2 separate regions of the Homo sapiens genome follow, and region 1 is linked to region 2. The links are contacts of gene promoters, found by promoter capture Hi-C in blood cells and fetal thymus (Javierre and others, 2016). All regions are on one chromosome and are shown on one strand. The core of a region is centred on a gene start or on the middle of the fragment in contact, and the rest is flanking DNA. Distances in the headings are between cores, read along the strand shown.

Evidence for each region. The method cuts DNA at HindIII sites, captures the fragments that hold promoters and counts their contacts. A CHiCAGO score of 5 or more calls a contact.
Region 1: a contact is called between a fragment that was not itself captured here and the fragment with the promoter of PMAIP1 in region 2, in 1 of 17 cell types (total CD4 T cells). The highest score is 5.8, in total CD4 T cells.

What each region holds. Positions count from the first base shown.
Region 1 is chr18:56,647,246-56,649,945 of GRCh38, forward strand. No RefSeq gene overlaps it. Among named protein-coding and RNA genes, the nearest start is that of WDR7, 2.8 kb to the right of the region's middle. The HindIII fragment of the contact is 3,586 bases long and covers 1-2,700 here.
Region 2 is chr18:59,898,546-59,901,245 of GRCh38, forward strand. It overlaps PMAIP1 (phorbol-12-myristate-13-acetate-induced protein 1), which reads left to right and starts at 1,451. Exons shown (of 2, transcript NM_021127.3): 1 at 1,451-1,690. The coding sequence starts at 1,633. RefSeq lists an enhancer at 540-1,291 and silencers at 1,048-1,457, 1,608-1,817. The HindIII fragment of the contact is 10,069 bases long and covers 1-2,539 here.

The sequences.
Region 1 (2,700 bases), core at 199-2,698, 3.3 Mb before region 2:
TCCCTGCCAGACTGAGTAACTTGACCACAAGAACCAAGTCTCTGCATTTTCTGTATGTGTAGCTCAGCATAGTGCCTAAAACCACTGGATGGTGAATAAGTGATGTTTTTCACCTTGATGAATTAGAATTAGAAGTAAAAGAATGTACTATTTCATGAAGATGGAAGTAAAGTTAAGGTAGCTATTGCCACTGTCTTCCTTACCTCAGATTATCATGGAGCAAATGCTAGGCATCTGACAATTTCATCCATAAATATTTCAGCCTGCACATCTGGAAGATGAGGAATCCTCTAAAGACATAACCGAAATATCATTATTACATTCTAATATGTTAACAAGGCTTCTTTAATATCATTAAATATCCACTCGGTTAAAATTTCCCATTTTTCTCCTAATTTATTTTATAGCTTACTTGAATCAATATCAAAATAAGACACATGCATTGCATGGGTTGATAAGTCTGATGTCTCTCTTTTATTAAAAATCAGTAAAAATCAGTTTAATCTTTGTTTCTTTTTTTCCAACTTTTTATACGGAAAAAAAAAAAACTGAGGGAAAAGTTGCAAAAGTACAATGACAGCTCCTGATTGTCAATTGTTAAAAATGGTGTCATGGTGCAGGCTGGGTTCTCTGGGAAGCTGATGCTGAGATGGAGTGAGGAGTCCAAAAGGTTTATTTCTCTCACATCTGTGAGAGGAAAAGGGAGGAAGCAGGATTGGGCCGAGGAAGGGAAAAAGCAGATCTGACAAAGTCTCTACTAACCCAAGAGGAAGCTCTAGTACAAAGATTGCCTGTTAAAGGAGTCCCCCATGGGAGCAGAAATTCCTATGCCTTGATACCACCCCCTAGAACAGGGGCCTCCCCAAGAAGAATGTGCCCTGGACTTTCCTCACCCTGCTCAGTCATTCATCAGAGGCTGCCTCAAGATTAGTGTGATCTCAGCTGGAAAGCCCAGGTGACCCTGAAGAAGCTAACAGCAAGAGTGTGAGCAAACCACTCTCCTTGCAGCTAGGAAGTGGTTCTTTCTTGAAGGGGAATCTGGGTGGTGCTTCATGTGTCTCCCATAGTCCACTATTTACACAAAAATGAGTTCCCTTCTCTACACAGGTTTGGGGAGCAACTCCTCCAGGTTTCTGGTCACCCTCTCTTCCTTATGGGAAACCTAGAAGAGGGAGGTTAGTAGACGATCTACAGCCCTGTTGCTGCAGTTGGTGACCAGGGCTACCACTAGGACTTATCAGCTCCTCCTTCATTATCTATTCTAATTTTCCCTTGCTAGTCTTGCTGGTTTGGTGAGGGGGGCTGTGAAACCCTCATTTGTGAGGAGGCTTAACACCCTAAACCTTATCACCTTCACTCCTTCCTAAAAGGCCTGAGTATGGAGTAACTAGAGATGTTTCTAGAAAAAGACATTTTGTTACTTGGAAAGAAATGGTTTGAATCATGGAAGTCATGAGACAGGAAAAAAAGAGAAGTATCAACACTTGACTTTTATGTCATGTGAGAAAGTGCAAAAGGAATCTCTTAATTGCACAAAACAGTTTTAATTACACAAAAATCATGCAAAAAACCCTTATTAAGCCTCTTTGCCATTTGGTATTAAAATAAAGCCATCGACCATGATAGGACTTTTCTGGGAGAGGGTCCAGGAAGGAAAGGGGAGTATTAGCTGAGTACTAGGCACCATGGGGAATACCAAACTACGACTGAAAACCTCGATGAGAAAAAAATAACAGCATGCATGAAGTGATCCGAAAATAACAGTAGCAATAAAGTCACTGTTAGGCCACTGGGCTATCTCCCTCTTTTGAAATTTGTAAAATGGAAGAACAAGCCTCCTTGCCTTTTGCAGAGCTAACCTGGAGCTTAAGAAGTCCAGAAGGTACTGGTGTGCTGTAGGGTAATTTGCTACTAAATTCTCAAACCCCCAACCTTGCGATCTGCCTGCCTCGGCCTCCTAAAGTGCTGGGATTACAGGCGTGAGCCACTGTGCCCAGCCTGCTACTAAATTTTAAGGACAGAGTAGTACTTAAGTTTTAAAAATGCCACTAAAGCTGGGTGTGGTGGCTCACGCCTGTAATCCCAACACTTTGGGAGGCCGAGACAGGCCAATCTTGAGGCCAGGAGTTCGGGACCAGTCTGGCCAATAGAGTGAAACCCCATCTCTACTAAAAATAAAAAAAATTAGCCAGGTGTGATGGTGTGCACCTGCAATCCCAGCTACTCGGGAGGCCGAGGAAGGAGGATTGCGTGAACCCAGGAGGTGGATGTTGCAGTGAGCTGAGATGGTGCCATTGTACTCCAGCCTGGGTGACAGGGCAAGACTCCATCTCAAAAAATATATATATATATGCCTCTAAAATGGTGAAATTCCCGATTTTATCCTGTGGGTCTCATTTATGATTCTTTTGCAGTGATAACCATACATTTTTGGTTACAACAACAATGACGACATCTCACTTGTCTCCTTGCTTCCCTGTATTTCCCACCTGATTTACATGGCACATTGCTGCCAAATTAATATTTGTGGCTGGCCCATCTTAAGTGACCCCGATAAGTCACACTCTTGTATAATCCTTTCTCCTTGAGTACAGATAAAACCCGTGACTTACTTTAACCAATAATATATGGCAAAGGTGATGGCTGTCACTCCCTAATTTAGGTTATCATCTACATCCATTTCCATATCTATGTCCATGT
Region 2 (2,700 bases), core at 201-2,700:
TCTAGGGAGCCCATGCAACGAATTTGCAATCTTTTCATTAAACAGCACAGCTAATATGAAAACACGCTTTTTTTTTCTTTTTCTTTTTTGAGACAGAGTCTTATTCCGTCACCCAGGCTGGAATGCAGTGGCGCGATCTCGGCTCACTGCAACCTCCGCCTCCCAGGTTCAAGCGATTCTCGTGCCTCAGCCGCCCAAGCAACTGGGACGACAGGCGTGCACCACCAAGGCCGGCTAATCTTTTGTATTTCAGTAGAGACGGGGTTTCACCATATTGGCAAGGCTGGTCTCGAACTCCTGGCCTCAAACGAACCACCCGCCTCGGCCTCCCAAAGAGCTGGGATTACAGGCGTGAGCCACCGCGTTCGGCGAAAACACACATTTTCTAAGAAACTGATTGCTGGGAAGGCTACAGTGGGTAAGAGCTCTTGCTCTCTGTGGGCCTGCCTGGTTCGGAATCAGGGCAGTGCTCTCTGCCTAAGTGAACTTGGGCAATTTTCTACAAACCTCAGTTTCTGCACCCGTAAAGTAGCAACGGTTGTTCTGAGGACGGAATGAGAAAATGCATGTCAAAGTCCTTAGCATGAAGCGGCTCTCAGTAACCGTTAACCACTCCTAATTACTCCTCTTCATAATAGTAGAATTACTCATGGCCTCGCCAAACATTATGCAAATAATTTCACGTTCCCAGGTAGCTCAGCCCTCCCACAAAAGATTTGAACGTTTTCCATATGATAACGATCCACTCGTTTTTGCTAAACATCCACAATGGGCGATATCGACCTATCTGGAAGGACACACACAAATCCCTTCCCAACTCAAACACGATGTTCTTTCTGGCTGGCACCAGGGCTTCTGTTTGCAGTGACTTCCTGGGACCCGGAGCTTTCTCACAGGGCCTCTGGCATCTCCTCTGCGGTGATTAAGGTTCTTCTCATTTCCCTTCCCTGTTACTGCCCATACTCTTCAAGTTCGAAAAGTTTCCTTTTCCAATCTCTTTTCTGGGCTTGTTTACCCAAGTCTCTAATTGCCAAGGCCTCTGGTCTCTCCCCACCCACAACGTTCCTCCTGGTTAAACCCTTCCCCTCCCGCCACTCCCAGCTCCCGCCACTCCCAGCTCCCGCCACCACTGCCGCTGACGACGTCCAGCGTTTGCAGATGGTCAAAGCCGACCCCCTTCTCCTCCCACCTCGTTTTGTAAGGAAGTAATTTCGGGGCCGAGCGCTCTGCGCCCCCCGCCGCGGGTCGGCGCCGCCGCGGGTCGGGAGCGTGTCCGGGCAGGTCGCGCTCAGCGGGGTACTTCCCCGCCCGCGTCCCGCGTCCGCTCCCATAACGCCGTCTGCGGGGCGGGGACAGGGGCGGGGACAGGGGCGGGCCGGGCGTCTAGTTTCCCTACGTCACCAGGGAAGTTCTCACTGGACAAAAGCGTGGTCTCTGGCGCGGGGATCTCAGAGTTTCCCGGGCACTCACCGTGTGTAGTTGGCATCTCCGCGCGTCCGGACACCCGATCCCAGCATCCCTGCCTGCAGGACTGTTCGTGTTCAGCTCGCGTCCTGCAGCTGTCCGAGGTGCTCCAGTTGGAGGCTGAGGTTCCCGGGCTCTGTAGCTGAGTGGGCGGCGGCACCGGCGGAGATGCCTGGGAAGAAGGCGCGCAAGAACGCTCAACCGAGCCCCGCGCGGGCTCCAGCAGGTACCGACCCGCTGGGGCCAGCGAAGACCCAGGCCGGGCGGGGTCGGGGCCGGGGTCGAGGTCTCGGCTGGGGCGGGCTCAGCTCGCCGGGGCTCAAGCACAGACTGCACGGGGGTCAAGGTCGGGCCAGGTCTGTGCCCTGGCGCGAGCCTTAGGGGCGCCTCCAGAAAGTTCTTCGGGGTTTTTCCCCAGGACCGGCGGGTACGGCGGGTACGGCGAGGGACCAAGCCGGATTTGCGATTGGGATGCAGCTGCGTTTCACCAGGGGCAAAAAGCTCCTTTCCTCCTCTCTTTCCTCCTCGCCACTTGCCCTTCCCCGGGGCCACGAGGAACAAGTGCAAGTGTAGGCGGCTGTCTCTAGGAGAAAGTCATTGTCGCGGCAGAAGGGGCAGGAGAGAGCCCCGGGGACCGCCTGGACTCCCAGCGCTTCCAGAGACGGCCCCACAAGGGCCCCTGTGTTCAGGAGCCTAGAAAATCTTGTAACATTTAAATAATCGATATTGTGGGAGGTGGGGATAGGAGAATAGGAGTTAGTCCGCTCCTTTTTTTCATTCATTCATTCGCACTCCCCACCCCGATACATACAGCTCCATCGTAAGTTTTCAGGCCAGCGCCCCGGCCCCATGCTTTTTCTAAATCTAAACAGAGAACCCAGTCACTGCCCAGAGCCCGAAGTCTGTGTGGGCCATACTGCTGTTGCATCAGACGATTATACGCCCCCCCCACCTTTTAAGTTACTTTCATTTTATAGAGCTCCTGGGGCGTGCGAAGGAAGTGGTGCATTGCAAATGTGACCATGCCTAAGTTGGTAACAGGCTGCTGTCTCTGGCGCTTGTGTGGGATGGAAAAAGCTTTGTCTACCTTTTGTGATGTCTTAGGATTCTGACCTTGTTTCTTTCTGAAGGATCTTACTTATGCATAGCACTTTCTGGTCCGACTTAATTCCCAAGAACAGGAAGCAGCACAAAGTCCCTCTTAAACTTGATTTGATTGATACTAATACATTTATA